Regions from separate parts of the Homo sapiens genome. Here all the other regions are linked to region 1. Evidence: promoter capture Hi-C in human tissues and cell types (Jung and others, 2019). All regions are on one chromosome and are shown on one strand. Each heading gives the region's core, a stretch centred on a gene start or on the middle of the fragment in contact. The rest is flanking DNA. Distances are from core to core; before and after follow the strand shown.

The links. Contacts are between HindIII fragments. The study calls those that stand out against the background at their distance.
Region 2: a contact is called between a fragment that was not itself captured here and the fragment with the promoter of CTAGE1 in region 1, in 4 of the 25 tissues and cell types used here (H1 embryonic stem cells, IMR-90 fibroblasts, aorta and 1 more).
Region 3: a contact is called between a fragment that was not itself captured here and the fragment with the promoter of CTAGE1 in region 1, in 6 of the 25 tissues and cell types used here (aorta, bladder, heart right ventricle and 3 more).
Region 4: a contact is called between a fragment that was not itself captured here and the fragment with the promoter of CTAGE1 in region 1, in 1 of the 25 tissues and cell types used here (heart left ventricle).
Region 5: a fragment that was not itself captured here is called in contact with the fragment with the promoter of CTAGE1 in region 1 in 2 of the 25 tissues and cell types used here (heart left ventricle and heart right ventricle).

What each region holds. Positions count from the first base shown.
Region 1 is chr18:22,416,621-22,419,214 of GRCh38, forward strand. It overlaps CTAGE1 (cutaneous T cell lymphoma-associated antigen 1), which reads right to left and starts at 1,295. Exons shown (of 1, transcript NM_172241.3): 1 at 1-1,295. The coding sequence starts at 1,191. It also overlaps the pseudogene ATP7BP1. The HindIII fragment of the contact is 3,989 bases long and covers 1-1,948 here.
Region 2 is chr18:22,175,713-22,178,306 of GRCh38, forward strand. GATA6 (GATA binding protein 6) reads left to right here. Exons shown (of 7, transcript NM_005257.6): 3 at 1,243-1,409. Among named protein-coding and RNA genes, the nearest start is that of GATA6, 7.4 kb to the left of the region's middle. RefSeq lists an enhancer at 2,590-2,594. The HindIII fragment of the contact is 4,632 bases long and covers 1-2,594 here.
Region 3 is chr18:22,201,330-22,203,923 of GRCh38, forward strand. It overlaps GATA6 (GATA binding protein 6), which reads left to right. Exons shown (of 7, transcript NM_005257.6): 7 at 1-1,199. Among named protein-coding and RNA genes, the nearest start is that of GATA6, 33 kb to the left of the region's middle. The HindIII fragment of the contact is 7,031 bases long and covers 1-2,594 here.
Region 4 is chr18:22,562,988-22,565,581 of GRCh38, forward strand. The region is part of intron 2 of LOC124904265 (a long non-coding RNA gene); the gene reads left to right. Among named protein-coding and RNA genes, the nearest start is that of CTAGE1, 150 kb to the left of the region's middle. The HindIII fragment of the contact is 4,164 bases long and covers 1-2,594 here.
Region 5 is chr18:22,283,153-22,285,746 of GRCh38, forward strand. No RefSeq gene overlaps it. Among named protein-coding and RNA genes, the nearest start is that of GATA6, 110 kb to the left of the region's middle. The HindIII fragment of the contact is 6,589 bases long and covers 1-2,594 here.

The DNA.
Region 1 (2,594 bases), core at 45-2,544:
CTCTTCAGTGGCATGGCTGATCATTTCGTCTACTTTAGAAAGTTTCTCTTCTTTCTCTAACCGGCATTTTTCCTCTACTATTAATTTCCTGTAGAGTTTCATTTCATTTTCTTGATATAATTCAGTCATTACTTTAAGTTTCTGCTGAAGCTTCTGATTCTCACTTTCAAAATGTGTGTTTTCTGACTGCAAAGATGCTTGTTCAGTCTGAAGATTTTTAATATGCTCTGTAAGCTCTTCCTTTGTTTTATCAACTTCAGATAATTGAATATAAATTTGGTTTCTTTCTCCTTCTAAGGTTTTTAAGGAAGCATTTAACTTAGCAGCATGAATCAGTTTCTTCAAAGCTCCTTTTGGAGGATTATCTAAGTAAGCACCATCTTCCGATTCACTGTTCATTTCTAATTCCAAGTTATCATCATCCGTTACATCTTCTTCAAGCATAGCAACCCCATCTTTCATCTTTAGCAAGCGTTCAGTCAGAGTCTTGATGTGATTTTCTTTATCATTTAGAACTTGTTCTGCATGTACTTTGGAGTCTTCAAATGTTCTTTTCTGTTTAATAAGTTCACTCACTTGTTCTTTCCATACTTCAGCTTCTTGCAAAAGCTGTTTCTGGCTTTCCTGAAGTTCAGAATTTTCTTTCCAAGCATCTTGTATTTCTATCTCCAACCGTTCTTCATTCGCTTGAAATCTCTTGAAGGTCATTTTGGCTTCAGCTACTTGTGATTTGAGGGATTTTGACTCATCTTCTAGCGACTGTATCCTTTTGGAAATATCCGCCATCAATTCATTTTGTTCAGAATGTTTAGATTTCTCTTCTTTTAACTCTTTTTCTAGACAGAGTATTTCATGCACAAGTTCAGAATTGAACCTGTTCAGCTTTTCGCAGGTTGCCTCCAAACTTTGTGCTTCTGTTGCCTCCTTCTCAAAGCTGGCATTCTTTAAAGATGACTCTACTTCATAGCCTTCATACTCTTTTTGAACAAGGCTAAATTTTTCAAGTAGTTTACATTTTTCTTCAATTAGTCCAGAAAGTGCCACAGCAAACTTTTTCTCTCTTCTCACATAAAGCCGACTCGTAACTGATCTAAAACTTCTCCACAAGAAGAGAACAGCAAAAAATCCAGCAACAGCTGCACGTATCACCAATTCCCATGGAAAACCATAAGGATGAGAATCGGGTCTCATACCTTCAGTCAGTGCTGCCACAACCCTGCGTAGCAACTCCAGGACCAGCCCCAGGTATGGCTGAGGGTTAGCCCTAGGCTCCTCCGTAGCGCCAAGGCTGCTCTGGCGGTTGCTGCAGTAACCTCGGCCACAACAAACGCTGGAGAAGACGCAGCATTCCGTTTGGAACCTGAATCCCTAACGGGCAACCGGAGCGTACCACTGCGGAGCCGGCTGCGGGGGGAGTTAGGGGACGCGGGCACCCGTAGGCCTCACAGACCCACACTGCCCACCCCGGTACCTTTGTTACACTTTACATCCTGAGGAAGCGCTAAAACCTATATTTTAAAACAGTACCACATGGTGAGAAAGACTCAGGTGACCCAGCATCCCAGCTATGCCCATCCCAAGCTGACACCCTAGCTAAATGTAGCCTTGTGCATGACCCCAGGTGGGGCGGGCAGAAGAACCTCCCAGCTGACAGAATGATAAGGAATAACAAATCATTGTTTTAAGTCACTAAGCTTTGGGGTCATTTGTTATGCAGCAGTAGCTAACTGAAATACCTGCCCCCTTATCCCTTTGGTGTTTCAGTATCTGTGGCTGAAATAATGAATTTGGGTGCTTGACTAAGATTATGCCCTATGGTAAATTCTGATAGGTAATTTTATAGCTAAAATACAAATTTTCTGATTGACCTTTGCTTCATTGAAGAGATATTTATTTAGCTCCTCCCAAATGAGACAGATTATGCTTTTTAGATTAACTTCTTCCAGGAAAGGGCTCACCACTCCCTAGCATGAGCCTCAGCTGTCCCATGTACAACTGAAAAACGCTAATCTCATCCCCAGAAGATCCAGGACTCTTAGAACAGTGCTGGCACATAGAGAGTGATTCTCTTACCTGTCCATCAAACTTACCTGCTCTGTGTCCATTTCTGAAACACTGGCACTCCTTCAACACGGATGACGCCTTGCCCTGCAATAAGTCATCATCTCCCGCCCATGCACATATCTTCAACTCATCTGGAAAGCTTGCTCCTGCAGCAATGGGTATGCCCACTAGGTTATAAATCAGCGCCAGGACCAGTTTGATGCATATCCTCTGGACAGTCATCTTGGAAATATGAATGCTAGCCACCACATCCAGCAAATCATTTTTGATGAGGATGACGTTGGCTGCCTCGATGACCACATCCGTGCCAGTGCCAGTGGCAATGCCCAAGTCTGCCTGGGCCAAGGCCAGGGAATCATTGACCCCGTCCCCCACCATGGCGACTTTCTTCCCTTCATTCAGGAGCTCCTGAACCTTGGTCACCTTGTGTGAAGGCAACACCTCTGCAAAGACTTTGTTGATGCCAACCTGGGTGGCAAAGGCTCTGACTGTCTTCCAGTTGTCCCCCGTGATCAGAATCACGTTCACAT
Region 2 (2,594 bases), core at 58-2,557, 240 kb before region 1:
AAATATCGTTACCACACAGTTGATAGTAGACACAAGCAATAAACTGCAAGGGGATGAGAAAGAACCAAAAGGTTCACCAGCACATAATCTTAAGCTAAAACTCTGAAGTGTAATGTTTATTTACTTTAAAAAGTGATTCAGGAATGCTTCTTCAATAATGCAGAACTAGGACATTTAAACCTTCTATAATCTAAAGAACCTTAAATGGCGGTCTATACTTTTTTTTGGTCTATACTTACAATAAGTACCTTTCTCATTTTTAGAGACATTTATTCTTCCATATTTAACCTTCTTGAGAAGTAATAAATGTTACATTTACTCTTAATTAGGATTTGTTTTTATTAGCAGGTTTAGGTTATTGTGAATTCTGAAAACTAACCAAAGAATAATAATAATAAAATTATGTAAAATAAACACATTTTAAATCGATTGCTAACTCAAAATGATCACTGGGAAGGTCTTGGTAATTTTCTCAATCAGTAAGGTATCAACCTTTTATAAAAATTTTGCAGATAGAAGCAGTTGGACCCACTTCTAAATCGGGATTTTAGCATTTGATCTTTGTGGCATGAAAATAAAACTCTGTGCTTAACGTTAGTGCATTTTTCCCCTGAAAAGATGAGAGTAATCTTCTCATTTCTAGTTTCTAACTAACGTAGGTGCCTAAGAATAGTACTTTTAATTTCACTTGTGTATCTTTAATTGGAGAAGAGGCACATATGGACGGGTGGCAGATGTAGAAAATACTTTTTAAAATTACTTGAGATAAAAGTTAATGAGGCAGCCTCGCTGTGTCCCCGGATATTTGTGGGTTGCAGCGGGGCTCAGTGGTCAGTATTTCTGTGTGGCTTGCTCGGGTTTGGCAACGACGTACTGTAATGATGATGGATTTCAGTCTTTAAAAGCTCCGGGACAGCCTGAGAGTAGGGGTCAGGGGACTCAAGCCGACCTCCCCACCGCTCATCTCGGACTCTGACGTCCTCTGCTTCCAGCACTGTCTCTTTCCCGGAGTCTCTACTGGGGCGCTCCGGGTGTGCAGAAGTATTGGACAAATGGTCAGTGGAGCAATAGTGACGAAATAACCCTGCTCCTGGCTTTGCGGCCAAGGAGAAAAGCTCAGCCGGGAAGGGCACGGGCAGGGAAGCCGGGCACCGGGGCTGGGGGCCGGGGTCCCCGGGGTGACGCGGGGAGGGACGGGTCCGGCGCGCCCACTCCCGCCCTCACGCACCGCTGTCGCCGCAGACCTGCTGGAGGACCTGTCCGAGAGCCGCGAGTGCGTGAACTGCGGCTCCATCCAGACGCCGCTGTGGCGGCGGGACGGCACCGGCCACTACCTGTGCAACGCCTGCGGGCTCTACAGCAAGATGAACGGCCTCAGCCGGCCCCTCATCAAGCCGCAGAAGCGCGTGGTGAGTGTGACCCGCCCTGCCCCTGGCTCGCGGCCGGCCCCGGGCTCTCCTGGCCCGGCCGGCCCCGCCCTGGCTCGGCCTGCCTTGGGCGTCCCCCTCCCAGGGGACAGGTGCGGCCGCTGCGGTCCCACCCTAGCGGGGACCCAGCGGTACCATCCTGTCCCGGCTGTTCCAACGCCCACCCGCTGGCGCCCAAGTAGAAGTTACCCCGAAACTGGCCTCTGGGAAGCCAAGATAGCCTTTCCCCATGTTTACGCGCAGGGGATGACGTCCGTAAATGACAAAAACAAAAACAAACAAAAAAGGAAGGTGCAAAATGTTACCATGTTTTAAGCAAAAAAAGAAAAAATAATCTATATATCTCTAGGTGTACTTGCCAAAGCACCGTAATAATTCTGGTAAGATAGGCAAGAAATTGGTGATGGTAACCCGAGGAGAAAAACAGTAGACCTACCGAGGCCGGGCGAAGGAAGACTTTTTTCACTGTGTATGGTTTAGATTTTATGCTTGAAAAACCATGCTCACTTATACCATTCGTCCCCCAAATAGAATATGCCAGAAATCCACCCACTCACGCCTCCTCACAGCCACATTCTTTTGGGTGCCGTTTACTTTGTCCTTTCCACCTTCTTGGTCACTTCTACCTCTTATCCTCAGGTGTATCCCCAAATACCATATCTTGGATTGCCCTTGAGCCTGGTGAAAATTTATTTGCTCTAACTTTTGTTATTTCAAAATCAGAGAACTTTGTAGAACTTGAGTAAAAGTGTGGTTTGTATGTTCTTAAGTTGAGCATTTTCCCCAATTCGCACACGTTTTACTGTTTTTTTGTTTTTTTTTTTTTTTTTTTTTTTTTTGAGACGGAGTTTCACTCTTGTTGCCCAGGCTGGAGTGCAATGGCGCGATCTCGGCTCACCGCAGCCTCCGCCTCCAGGGTTCAAGCGATTCTCCTGCCTCAGCCTCCCGAGTAGCTGGGATTACAGGCATGTGCCACCACGCCCGGCTCATTTTTTTGTATTTTTAGTAGAGACAGGGTTTCTCCATGTAGGTCAGGCTGGTCTCGAACTCCCGATCTCATGTGATCCCGCCCGCCTCGGCCTCCCGAAGTGCTAGGATTACAGGCGTGAGCCACCGCGCCCGGCCACCATGTTTTAAAGTAAGGGAATCCTGATTTCAGGGATTAAT
Region 3 (2,594 bases), core at 44-2,543, 220 kb before region 1:
CAAGACTGCATTGTAACTTTAACATACACTGTGACTGACGTTTCTCAAAGTTCATATTGTGTGGCTGATCTGAAGTCAGTCGGAATTTGTAAACAGGGTAGCAAACAAGATATTTTTCTTCCATGTATACAATAATTTTTTTAAAAAGTGCAATTTGCGTTGCAGCAATCAGTGTTAAATCATTTGCATAAGATTTAACAGCATTTTTTATAATGAATGTAAACATTTTAACTTAATGGTACTTAAAATAATTTAAAAGAAAAATGTTAACTTAGACATTCTTATGCTTCTTTTACAACTACATCCCATTTTATATTTCCAATTGTTAAAGAAAAATATTTCAAGAACAAATCTTCTCTCAGGAAAATTGCCTTTCTCTATTTGTTAAGAATTTTTATACAAGAACACCAATATACCCCCTTTATTTTACTGTGGAATATGTGCTGGAAAAATTGCAACAACACTTTACTACCTAACGGATAGCATTTGTAAATACTCTAGGTATCTGTAAACACTCTGATGAAGTCTGTATAGTGTGACTAACCCACAGGCAGGTTGGTTTACATTAATTTTTTTTTTTGAATGGGATGTCCTATGGAAACCTATTTCACCAGAGTTTTAAAAATAAAAAGGGTATTGTTTTGTCTTCTGTACAGTGAGTTCCTTCCCTTTTCAAAGCTTTCTTTTTATGCTGTATGTGACTATAGATATTCATATAAAACAAGTGCACGTGAAGTTTGCAAAATGCTTTAAGGCCTTCCTTTCAAAGCATAGTCCTTTTGGAGCCGTTTTGTACCTTTTATACCTTGGCTTATTTGAAGTTGACACATGGGGTTAGTTACTACTCTCCATGTGCATTGGGGACAGTTTTTATAAGTGGGAAGGACTCAGTATTATTATATTTGAGATGATAAGCATTTTGTTTGGGAACAATGCTTAAAAATATTCCAGAAAGTTCAGATTTTTTTTCTTTGTGAATGAAATATATTCTGGCCCACGAACAGGGCGATTTCCTTTCAGTTTTTTCCTTTTGCAACGTGCCTTGAAGTCTCAAAGCTCACCTGAGGTTGCAGACGTTACCCCCAACAGAAGATAGGTAGAAATGATTCCAGTGGCCTCTTTGTATTTTCTTCATTGTTGAGTAGATTTCAGGAAATCAGGAGGTGTTTCACAATACAGAATGATGGCCTTTAACTGTGGCTCCCTGAGTGTACAGTATTTTTTTACTTCTTTTCATGCACTTATTACAGTCATTCTATGGGGTTCAGTCTGAATCTTTCAAGAGAAGGAATGTCTTCCTTAGTCCTGGTGAATGCTACTCTATAGAGGGACAGTGTCCATAGCCAGTGTGTGTGTGTGTGTGTGTTTCTGGGTAATTCAGTAAGGCCCACGTGCACCCTGATATCATAAGGTGGGCCAGAACAATGGTTAAGAGTGTTGGGTATGCAGGCAGATCACTAGGCTTCAATTCCCTGCTTGGCCGTGGATAAGCTCTGTGACCTTGGGCAAGTTATCCAGCTCTCATCTTTCTAATATAAAATAAAGGCAAATAGTATATAAATCACAGGATTAAGTGAGATAGTCCATGCCAAGTGCTTAGCACAATACCTGGCACATATTAAGTACTAACTTGACTTTGAAAGAGAGTGGCATGATTTGCAACATAGATCCTTTGAATAATGTCTGACTACCTGGAATATCAGAAGTTTATGGTCTGTAAGAGTGATGTCCTGTGGGTCACCTGTGCTTCTTCAACAAGGCCAAGAAGAGTGAAATGAAAGACTCCCTCTAATCCAGGGGGTTGCAGAAATGGAGGGAGGATGCATGAGAGCTGATTGTTTTATAATAGAACAAGGCTGTTCTGACAACAGAAGAAAATTATTATCCCCACGAACTGATGTCTGTTTTCCTCCCTCCTTTTATGGTTCTCATTACTTTGAGTGCTTTTTGGTGGGTTGGGAGTTGTTAAAGTTAATATGGTTTGATTGGAAAATGAATTTTTCTTTTTGGGGCTTCCAAATGACCCTTTTTCTGGGATAATCTCAAATATTGCTCCTTCCAATTCTAAAAAGAATTCTAGTTTTTATGAAACAAATTACAGTGGGCAGAAGACAGAGGGGGCTTCTTGTAGCCTGTCCTAACACAATGAACTCCACTATCTGTTTTTAAATGATTACTTTCTTACCTATGATTGCATAAAGAAGTTTGTTAAATTTGCTCCAAATACACAATTTCAGCACTCCTCTCCCAAAGTATGACATGTGCAACTGAACATGACCCAATCATTTCTCAAAAGGGAATGCATTCAAATAGATGCTGCACCTCAGCTTAAAGAATCCCCAGACCGTATATCGTGGACTGGAGAATTTATGTCTTCTGTCACACATGGCTGATTTGAGGCCATCTTAAATAAGTGAAGGCTCTGTCTGGGGTCTCTTTTCAGGGTCACTTAATGTTGTTTCCTGGTGCTTATGGGAGGGTCAGGAAAGCAAAGGGAACCATTCATTTCCCAGTGCAAATAAATTAACTTCTTGCTCATGGGAAATGTTTTTCACAGTCCTTGGAAATTTGATGTAATTTCAGATCACAGATAA
Region 4 (2,594 bases), core at 36-2,535, 150 kb after region 1:
ATAGGAAAAAATCTCAGCATGTCCTTCTCCCAACTGTTAGAGATACTCACCTCCTATTTAATGTGATAGGAGGTGTTCCTTCTACTTACAAAAAATTCGTATATATATTTAATTTTTTCTTAACTAAGTCTGAAAAGGAGAGACAACCTAGGCCATAAGTATGGAAAAGATGTATAGTTTCCCTCTCTCCTTTTTATGGGCGACTCCAAAGTGAAAGTCCAACCACTTAGGCGGATGAGCTTCAAGAAACTCTTCTCAGGACTGTGGAATGTGCACTGTGTCTACAGTCATCCATCCCTAAGCATATGTGGTTGTCACCCTCTAGTGGATGATCTATGATAATAGTTGGCAGCCTCCTGTGGGGCACAAGCACGATATTATCCAAGACTCACCTATCTTTAAGACGTAAATGACAGATAAGACTGCACCACAACTCTTCAGTCTTGGACACATATTTCCTAGGAAAATGGGTGCGCACGTGCTGTTTATTCAGTCTGCCATTCCCTGCTTCTTTTGAGTCTGTGTTTGTGTTTCCTACTGGTGTCTGGCATTTTCAAGAACAATACACATTTCCTTGAGGCAGACTTCTCCTACCATTGAGATAGTCCTAGGCAATTGATTCCCAGATATTGTTTGTATCCAGACTGGTCTTGAAAGCTTTCTCTATCTGCAGGTCTACTGGGTGTACCCAACTATTTAGCTGGTAACCAGGCACTTGCCAGTAGAATGCCAGTTCTGTGTTGAACAATTTGATCTACCTAGGAAAGTTGTGGACGATAAATATTGTTTCCATGTTTGCCGCTGTGTAAGGAGCCTAAACATAGATTCTTAGAGACTCTGATAGAATTTTTAGAGGTGGAAATGATAGGGTTTGCATTACCTTAAATTTTCAAGACTCAACACCAAGCATTAGATTGGAAAATAGAACTTTTTACAAAAGCCCTCTAAAATGAAGTCTGGCTTTGAATTCATTAGTATTACTAGATTCAAAATATAATCACATGATTTTCTTCTCTCCATTTTATTAGGTAACTGAAGATTTACATCTGTAAATCTGGATGGGAACTGAATTCCTACATCATAGACAGTTTCAAGGAGGGAAGGATTATGTGTTCAGGAAATACTCTGCATTCTCAAAACTCTACATTGTTGGTGCTTAGATTTGCTCTGTGAGAACCTACTGAAATAAACCTTTTCTCTGGAAGACAAGTACAGTTTCCCGAAGATCTGTTTATTTGCCAGCAGAGGAGTTGAATATTTGAAGCCAAGCCACCTTGGTTCTAAATCTGTGGTTAAATGGAAATCAGAGCACTGAGATATGCGGTGCCCCTCCCCACTCTTACTCATTTGAAAGATGAAGAAACTGAGGCTTGGCAAGGTTGAGTGGAGTTCACATAGCTAGCTAACCACAGAGCTGGCACCAAACAGGAGCCCAGCTCTCCAACTCCTAGGCCCTTGCCTCTCAGGTGGAATTTTCTTAGTGATTAGGAGAAAATCAGTTCCCTAGCCCTGTTCACAAGAGTTTATATTCTGTTTGGTTAAAAAGCATTTTTCTTGTTGTAAGAAATAAGTAACATAAAATTTACCATTTTAACTTTTTTTTTTTTCCCCATAGAGTCTCGCTCTGTCACCCAGGCTGGAATGATGCAGTGGCGAGCTCTCAACTCACTGCAACTTCCACCTCCTGGGTTCCAGCAATTCTCCTGCCTCAGCCTCCCAAGTAGCTGGGACTACAGGTACGCGCCACAGCGCCCAACTAATTTTTGCATTTTGTAGTAGAGACGGGGTTTCACCATATTGGCCAGGCTGGTCTCAAACTCCTGACCTCATGATCCGCCCACTTTTGCCTCCCAAAGTACTGGGATTACAGGCGTGAGCCACTGTGCCTGGCCCATTTTAAGTGTTTTAAGTGTACAATTTTGTGGCATTAAGTACATTCACATAATTGAGCAACTATCCCCAGCATCTATTTCCAGAACTTTAAAAAATCTTCCCAAACAAACTCTGTCTCCACTATCTAATAATTTCTCATTCTCCCCTACCCTCAGCCCCTGGCAACTACTATTCTACTTTTTGCCTTTACGAATTTGACCACTGTAGGTGCCTCATATAAGTGGAATCAAACACTATTTGCCCCTTTGTTACTGGCATGTTTCACTTAGCATATTTTCAAGGTTAATCCATGTTGCAGCATGTCAGAATTTCCTTCATTTTAAACGCTAAATAATATTCCTGTGTTTGTCTGTGTGTGTGTGTGTGTGTGTGTGTGTGTGTGTGTATTACACTTTGTTTTGTTTGTCCATTCATCCGTCAATAGATACTTGGGAAAAATATTTTTTAAATGCACAATAAAAATAAATATAAATATGTAAGAAGTAAAAGCATCTCTGCAAGAGGCTTGAGGCTATATTTGTTTAAAAAAGACTGCTGGGAATTGCTGGAGTAATTAAAGAGTAATTTAATAATTTTACACAGAACTATTTTAAATTGAAACTGTGAGCTTTGGTTTACTTACCTTTATATTCTCTACCACCTCCCATGGCATCCTAGCATCAGCACAGGGTCACATGTGGTAGGTACTCAATAAATATATG
Region 5 (2,594 bases), core at 26-2,525, 130 kb before region 1:
CATGTAAGTTTTAGGAATTGCAAGTACCTCTTTTGAGCCACTGGGGTTGAGGCTTCAGTTCTCTACCACTGAGAAGAATCAGGCAGATAGAGACCATTTTATGACATAGATTAAGGGGTTTAGGTCAGAGGTCAGGAAGGACTATGTGTCAGGCCATTTCCCTAAGAGAGATGTCAAAATGAAAATGAATATTATTGCCTATATCAGATGTCCTGAACTTCAGGGCAATGAGAGGGTCCTGATCAATGGTATCATTCTGTCTGTATATTTACTTACATGAACTCAAATAGGCACACACATGGGTGAGGAGGGGGCCATTTAAGTGGACCTGGCAATTAGGCCTATGACTCAGTCCAAGTTCCCACAAGAAGATGGGATGGGGGTATAGGAATCTGCTGGCCCCACAATTGGGCTCTCTCACAGGCTCTCAGTGTAATCTCACTGTGCTGAGTGTGAGTCTAACAGTTTTGATCCCCACACAGCATGGCTCCTACATGCGAGTCATCATCTTCATGTAATGCTCGGTGATTAGTTTCAATTCCAGTGTAAGAGCTGGCTATGCTGAGCTTCCTGAGAGAGGAGATGTCCATTTCCAACGTGGTTCACAGTTATGGGTTTGCCCAGTCTAACAGGGGTCATAAAGATCTGAGAGAGAAAAAAAAATCGTGAAGCTGTGGCATTAAGTACTAAAATGGTTGCTAAGTTTACCTTCCCACTAGCAGTGTAGAAGTGTCCCCTGATCGCCGCATCCATGCCAACATCTACTGTTTTTTGATTTTTTGATTATGGCCATTCTTGCAGGAGTAAGGTGGTATCACATTGTGGTTTCGATTTGCATTTCCCTAATCATTAGTGATGTTGAGCATTTTTTCATATGTTTGTTGGCCATTTGTACATCTTCTTTTGAGAGTTGTCTATTCATGTCCTTAACCCACTTTTTGACAGGATCGTTTGTTTTTTTCTTACTGATTTGCTCAGGTGATAGGTGCACCAGGATCTCACAAATCACCACTGAAGAACTTACTCATGTAACCAAATACCACCTGTACCCCAATACATTTATTGTTATAGAACAATAAATAAAGTAATAATAAAAAGATTGTTAAGGAGATACATCAGATATGTATAAGTTTTTTTTTTTTTTTTTGAGACTGAGTTTCGCTCTTGTTGCCCAGGCTGGAGTGCAACGGCACAATCTCAGCTCACTGCAACCTCCACCTCCCAGGTTCAAGAGATTCTCCTGCCTCAGCCTCCCAAGTAGCTGGGATTACAGGCATGTGACACCACGCCTGGCTAATTTTGTATTTTTAGTAGAGACGGGGTTCCACCATGTTAGTCAGGCTGGTCTCAAACTCCCAACCTCAGGTGATCTGCCCGCCTCGGCCTCCCAAAGTGCTGGGATTACAGGCATGAGACACCACACCCAGTTAAATATGTATAAGATTTTAGAAAAGATTGAAATGGCTTTTGACTTGTGCCTGGAAGACTCAGACTATGAGTATATGCCTATGAATTTTAATGTGTTCTAACTTCCTGCCAAAAAGGTACAGATTCCTGATGAAAAGATATTTCCAAAACTAATTTCAACTCTACATGTTTTCACCAATAGGCTACCTTCTGACCCTAACTCCCATGGAAATTATGATGGTTAAGAGCATGAACTTTGAGTCAGATATCAGATTCCAAATCCCAGCTCCACCGATAACATATTAATTCTACTAAGCCTCAGTTTCCTCAAATGTAACAATAGTTCTTACCTAATAGGGTAATTTTGTGGATTAGATGAGACAATCCCTGTTGTAGCATTTAGCACCTGCATTTAATAAGCAATGCAATAGATGTTTACTCTGATTATTCAGGAAGCAAAAGCAATCCGATGTATTGGCTCTATGCCACTGATTTGTGGGAAGAACAAAAGACTGGTTCTGTGCTCTGGATCCAAAGCAATGCAAAAGTTTTAAAAACAAATTTGTTTCTCGTTTTTACTCTTTTGTCTGTTGTGTTTTATATCTCTAACTTCTGAACTATTCAGATATACATATTACATATGCAACTATTCATTCCATGTACTTGGTGAATATTTCTTGAGCATCTGCTATGTGCCAAGCCAGGTGCTGGTTATGCAGAGGCAAGACACAGTCCCTGAAGAGTGGGAGGAAACAGACACATAAATGACAGTCACAAGCCAGCCTAGAAAATGGAATGATAATGGGCACCTGAAAGAACTTATGTGCCAAAAGTAGTGACTGGGTTGGGGAGGGCTCCTGGCATGAGAAAGGCATGGAAGTGAGAAACAGCAGGGTCATTGGGCAACCATGGGGAATTCACTTTGCCAGAATGGAATGTGTAAATCTGGGAATGGTGGGCAAATAGCCTAGAAAGAAAGGCTGATCATGGAGACTTTGACCTCCAGCCTGGAGGCCATGGGATACTGTTGATTGAATATATATTTTCATTGGAGGAGAAAAGAATTATAGGTTAACTCAGCAGGACTTGTGACTGCTGGGAGTGGGAAGTGAGGGGAAGGGGAAGTCCAGGATGACTTCCGGGTATCTTGATTAGGCAACTGAGTGGATGGGGGTGTCACTAATTTG